2 separate regions of the Homo sapiens genome follow, and region 2 is linked to region 1. Evidence: promoter capture Hi-C in 16 types of primary human blood cells and fetal thymus (Javierre and others, 2016). All regions are on one chromosome and are shown on one strand. The core of a region is centred on a gene start or on the middle of the fragment in contact, and the rest is flanking DNA. Distances in the headings are between cores, read along the strand shown.

Region 1 (2,979 bases), core at 149-2,648:
GCAGGCAGCGGCTGCGGAGTGGACCTCTCTCTTTCAGCAGATGCCGCGGGGGATGGGGAACTTAGAGAAGGGGAGACAAGGAGAGTGTACCCCGCCTCCCGGCACCCCAGCCCGTAGTACGGCTTTAAAATCCTGCAGAGTTTGTCATAGGCCGGCCTCACCACGCATGCGCATAGCAAAGTTGAGTTTTTTCTTTCTTCCCCCCCCTTCCCTCTCTCTTTCCAGCCGCCCCTAGTTCTGAAACTTTAAAGAACTTTTTTCTTTCTTTCTTTCTTTCTTTTTTTTTTTTTCTTCCTTCTGAGAACACCAGGGGAAAGAGGAGTCTGGAGAGAGGGAGGGAGAGAGTAAGGCAGTTGGCCAGAAGGGCTGGGGGGTGGGAGGGGGGGACGCGTCCCCGCGGTCGGTCAGTCTGTTTGCGGGGCACAGGATCGCGTGGAAATCTGCTGCGAGCTCCACGGAGCCGCCTCCGCCGCCCAGAGCCGGGGTCCGTGCGGCAGCTGCCCAGCGAGCCCTTCCGCCGCCGCCGTTGTGCCCGGGACCGCCCGCCTCCCGCCGGCCCGCTCTCCCGCCCCTCGGACCCGGGCGCCAAACGAGGAGGTGGGCAGCTTCGCCGGCCATGGACCGCCGGAGCTGAGTCGCCGCCGCGGAGCTCCGAGCTCTCGCCCTTCCCCAGCCTCGCGCCCGCGGTGCACTCGCTGCTCTTCGCCCTTCGCCCTGGAAAAACGGGGAAAAGAGAGATCAACCCGAAGAGAGAAAGAACGGGATACGTGGTGGGGGGGGGGAGCCCGCGTCTCCCCTGGGTTAGTCGCACCCCTCCAGCTCACCGCACAGCAATAAGTTCCGGGGCGACTTTCACCTATTTTGCTCCCCGTTTTTGCCGAACCCTAAAATGAAAGGACACAATTTGGGGCTGACTCTTGCAGCTCAGATGGCGACTTGTGCGTTTTCAGCGGCATCTCCCGGAGAAAAAGCCATGCGCGCCTGATTGTTCTGTGGCCCCAAAGCTGCAGCGGGGGTGTGTGTGTTGGGGTGTGTGTCTGTGTGTGTACAGAGACGTCCACACTAACTCGCGGCTGCAGGATCAGCGTCTGGAAGCAGACGTTTCGGCTACAGACCCAGAGAGGAGGAGCTGGAGATCAGGAGGCGTGAGCCGCCAAGAGTTTGCAGAATCTGTGGTGTGAATGAACTGGGGGCACCTGGGCGCACAGATCGCCCCCCTTCCCCCGCCCCGGGCCACAGTTGAGTAGTGGTACATTTTTTTCACCCTCTTGTGAAGAATTTCTTTTTATTATTATTTGTCGTAAGGTCTTTTGCACAATCACGCCCACATTTGGGGTTGGAAAGCCCTAATTACCGCCGTCGCTGATGGACGTTGGAAACGGAGCGCCTCTCCGTGGAACAGTTGCCTGCGCGCCCTCGCCGGACCGGCGGCTCCCTAGTTGCGCCCCGACCAGGCCCTGCCCTTGCTGCCGGCTCGCGCGCGTCCGCGCCCCCTCCATTCCTGGGCGCATCCCAGCTCTGCCCCAACTCGGGAGTCCAGGCCCGGGCGCCAGTGCCCGCTTCAGCTCCGGTTCACTGCGCCCGCCGGACGCGCGCCGGAGGACTCCGCAGCCCTGCTCCTGACCGTCCCCCCAGGCTTAACCCGGTCGCTCCGCTCGGATTCCTCGGCTGCGCTCGCTCGGGTGGCGACTTCCTCCCCGCGCCCCCTCCCCCTCGCCATGAAGGTAGGTGTTCAGTGCGCTGCCACTTTTTTTCTTTACTTCCCCCCACCCCCTGTTGGAAGTTAACTGAGTTCCCTTCGCCTCTTCCTATCCCTCCATTTCCCCAACCGCCTGAAGAAGCTGGAACTCCAGCGTCGCTGGCAGGAACCCCTACCCCTTCGCCCTCCACGCCGGGCGCACTGCCTCAGTGTCCCAGGAGATCACTTCTGGTCGCACCACCCGTTCTGCAAACAATTTTGATTTTTGAGAAAAAGTGGGGAAGAGCGATAGTAGACAAACTGAGTGCGGTTCACTGACGACTTTCCTTTTGCTCTGAGAACATCGAGTGTAATTTACTATGTATATTTCAGTAACAGGATAATGATTCAATTCAACAAATATTTACCAAGCGCCCACTGCGCGGGCACCGGGACGGTGTGTGGCCGGGGCTCGGGATGGGGAAAGGGACTCCTTGGTTGAGAGAACCCGCAGAGGAACTAGGGGCCAACTACTCCAGAGCGGCGTACACCTTCCCCGACACCCCCCCGCACCGACGGAGGCCAGATTGTAGGCTTGCCTTGGCCGAGTAACTCGAGCGCTTCAGGCCCCTTTGCCTTTAAGAGTGCCTGGCGGGGGGCCAGCGCGCACCCCGGCGCGGGGAGCGGGGTCGCGTTATTAGCATTATTAGCCGCCACTGGGTGAGCTCAGGCACTTTGCAGCAGTGGTGGGGGCGGGGAGTTGTGGTGGTAGTGGCTGTAATCCCGTACTCCGGGACAGCGCTCCCCGGCCCCCTGAGCGGAGTCCGCCTTGTCCTTTAGAAAACACTTGGGCCTCCGCTTTGGGAGAGCAGGCGGGGGCCAGTTTGCGAACTCTTGTTTGTTTTAATTGTCAGTTGTATGTTAAAGCCGAATCACACACTCCGAGGGTCACTGAGAGTTCACTTTTACGAAAAGTTAACGTTTCTTCCTGCAACATAAGTTTTTATTTTCTAAACAATTTTTCTTATCTGTCCTCCAAGCTTCGATTCCTATTTCCATTTTTCTGGTCTTTCCCATTTTAAGTTTCTTAGAAAATAAGGTTAGAATTGAAATTAAGATGTTTCCTGGAAGCAAATAACCCCTCTTCCCCCCAAAAAGTTAAAAAAAACAACAACAAAAAACTTCAAGTCTGGAGACCCCACGGCCCTGTTTGACTTTCTAATCCCTGTCTGGTATCGAGGCCCCTTCTCCTCTCTCGCCTCTCTTTTCTCTCTTCTCTCTTTAAATGGGTAATTCGCTGT
Region 2 (2,979 bases), core at 214-2,713, 260 kb before region 1:
TAGTCAATAGAAGCAGTGCCTAGCACATGGTGTGTCCATACCAGCTAGTGTTTCAAATGAATCCAATTGCACCATCACCATTTGGGTCCCAGGGGGCCACAGCTTTGTGAGTAGGGATGCCCCTGATAGTAATGCCCACCATTCCTGTGGGGTTTTGCAGTTTTCCAGATGCTTTCCTGTGGGGGATCTTCTGTGAACCTCTTAGTGACCTCGGGGGTAGGTAATATCATTTTTATTTTATAGATTCCCACAGCTAAGATACGTAAAGTCAAGTGACTTGTCAAAGGCACATATATAAAATTGGATGACTGTCTTTCTATGTTACCCCTGTTTTCTGTTTTCTATGCCTTATAGTATTGGCAGTGGGATTGGGGGGAAGTATGTTGAAGGTTCAGACTTCTCTCCCCTTTCTCACTGGAATTGAGAAATCACAGCCCATCCAGGAGCAACCATGTGATCTGCTCTGCCCACCGAGTTCTGAAGTATTGCTGTCACCCACTTGGGGAGTTCCAGCAGTGTGCATTGTGAGTCTCTCTCTTCCCCATGGACTTGGTTAGCAACTTTGTGATTTGGCTTCAGTCCTTGGGCATCCCTAGAAATGAAATAAATATACAATCAAATGAAATAAACATCCGAGCACCAGTTGTAGAGCTGCGGTCGGCTGCTCTTACTGACGGCAGCATTGTGACTGAGGGGGTGGTCCTCTTATCGGAATTCAGCCAACTTCTCACTTGATTCAAAGTGAATCTGTTTTTTCTGTGTCAAGAGTATCTCAACTTAGAACAATGCTAGACATAATCTATTTTATTTTGAGACATAAAATTATAAATACCCGGGTTCGAATCTCTACTTTGCCATCTACTAGCCATGTAAACTTGAGTAAGTTAATTCACTCCTTTCTGCCTCTCTTTTCTTATCTGTCAAATGGGAACATAATGGCACCTTCCTCATTAGATTGTTGTGCAGCTCAAATGAGTTAGTACACATAAAGGACTTAGAATGGTATAGTCTTTGGCACAGAAAATGTGCTGGTGTGTGTTAGCTATGTATTTCCTATTGTAGGCTCTATGGCCTGTCCCTTGTTCAGCAGTCTTGGCAAAACTGTTCAATTATCTTGAAACAGGCCAATAGAGCGCTGGTAAACCAGGTCAATAGAAAAAACAAAATCCCTGATTGGTAGTGATTGCCAATTTCCATCGTGTAAATACTTCTACCATGGCCAAGGTACAGGCTGACCCTTGTCAGTTGGAAGGAGATGCACATAATTGACTCTCGCTAGCTAGCAGCCAGCTCCAGCACACCATAGAAATAGACCCCTTAGCTGTAAGATCATTAGAGAGCTGCCAATTAGGATGACCCTCAGCTCATAGCTGTCCCTTTTTCTTTTGGTGTGATCCCATTATTTAGGGTGTGTTTCTAGTGATGGGGAAATCAGGCCATAACTGATTGACCTAGGTGGGGCTAACAGATTTTCTTTCCAGGAAGGTCAAACATTACTCTTTTTCCATTAAGCCTGGAGGTTGTAACAAAGTTATTCTGTAAACAGTAGGTCTTCTGAAGAAAGGTTTAGGATTTCCTGCTACTGAGGGTACTGGAGCAACTTTCTCACTGACCCTCCTAAAGCTCACTTGTTAGCTCTTTTCTTTTCCTCAGTTTATTCAAGTATCCCTCTAACACTTCCTCTTTTTGCTAAGTTAGCCAGAATTAGTTTCTTTTGCTTGCAATCCAAATAAACCCAACCAAAGCATGTGTTTAGTCACATCATTCCTCCATTGTTAGAATTATTTCCCTGGGATTTTCTCGACATTGCCTTCTGTTGTTTGTACCAACACTGTCAGAGATGGGTATGAGGGAGCCCAGGCCATTGCTGACAGCTCTGACTTAGCCAGAGTTGCTCCTGTTACTAACTTGGCCTCAGCCTTACCTACTTGTGACTTTCATCCTTAAGTCCTAGTTCAAATCTTAGGGTGCCCCTGGAGCAAGCCTCATCTATGTTACTCTAGCAGATAATTGAAGGGATAACTACCATGTTCCCAAGTCTTCTCTGTTGCTGATTACTCCCACATTCATATTCCACCAATATATATATACATATTGTGCTAAAATCCAACAAAATGAACAAACGAAAGAGAGGCAGAGTATGTCATATTTTACACTAGGCCCTTCTTGCCACCTTTAGAAATAATTTTCCTAAAGATTGGCATTGACCAACTCAGCTTTTCTTTCCTTCTGTGGTCACTGAAGACCCCTAGAAGGACCTGGAGCTCGAGCTCTTGTCTGATGGGGCCTATTTGTGAAATAAAGAGATTATTCTCCACTTATATCCTAAAGATACCATATTGGAAACAGACATTGGCAAAGGGACGGTCACTCAGTACAAACAATTTGGGTTCAACATGGCATTTATAAGGCAGCCAGCTTGGAAGTGCCAAACACTTTTCACAAGGAAAGCCCTTACCTATGCAGAACAGAAGAGGATGTTCCTCACACATACCCTGATAGTAACATGCAGCAATCACGTGAATGTTTTCCAGACCGTGGAAGTCATGGACCAATCATAGGAAAAAATATTTTTTGCCAACAACATATGCTTGCTAACCTAATTAAGCTATTAAATAAGACTATTCAAGTGTTAACTATTATCATCATCATTTGAGAAAGGGTCATTTTAATTCCAAACATTAGAAAGGACATTACTGAATGTCACAATAAAAAGCTGCTGTTCCCCAGAAAACAACTTACACATAATGTTCCTACATCCTCATGTGTGCATGCGGGCATGCGTGAAAACGTCAGCACTGGCCAAACCAGTCTTTCCGTTGGCACTTAAGGCATTCTTTATTTGACCACATTTCTTCCTTGGTGGTGGTATTCTAGCATCCTTGAAAGTTATGCAACTAGGAACAGGCATAAGTAAGCAAAAGAGAATTTTAATCGACTGAATCATCTCAACTCTCAATCAGACACTTACCCCATCTG

The links. The method cuts DNA at HindIII sites, captures the fragments that hold promoters and counts their contacts. A CHiCAGO score of 5 or more calls a contact.
Region 2: a contact is called between a fragment that was not itself captured here and the fragment with the promoter of WNT5A in region 1, in 2 of 17 cell types (M2 macrophages and M1 macrophages). The highest score is 5.2, in M2 macrophages.

The regions. Positions count from the first base shown.
Region 1 is chr3:55,485,725-55,488,703 of GRCh38, reverse strand. WNT5A (Wnt family member 5A) reads left to right here and starts at 1,398. Exons shown (of 5, transcript NM_003392.7): 1 at 1,398-1,724. The coding sequence starts at 1,719. It overlaps WNT5A-AS1 (WNT5A antisense RNA 1), which reads right to left and starts at 1,086. Exons shown (of 2, transcript NR_046656.1): 1 at 825-1,086; 2 at 396-714. The HindIII fragment of the contact is 5,010 bases long and covers 1-2,720 here.
Region 2 is chr3:55,750,623-55,753,601 of GRCh38, reverse strand. The region is part of intron 14 of ERC2 (ELKS/RAB6-interacting/CAST family member 2); the gene reads left to right. Among named protein-coding and RNA genes, the nearest start is that of ERC2-IT1, 93 kb to the right of the region's middle. The HindIII fragment of the contact is 4,718 bases long and covers 1-2,979 here.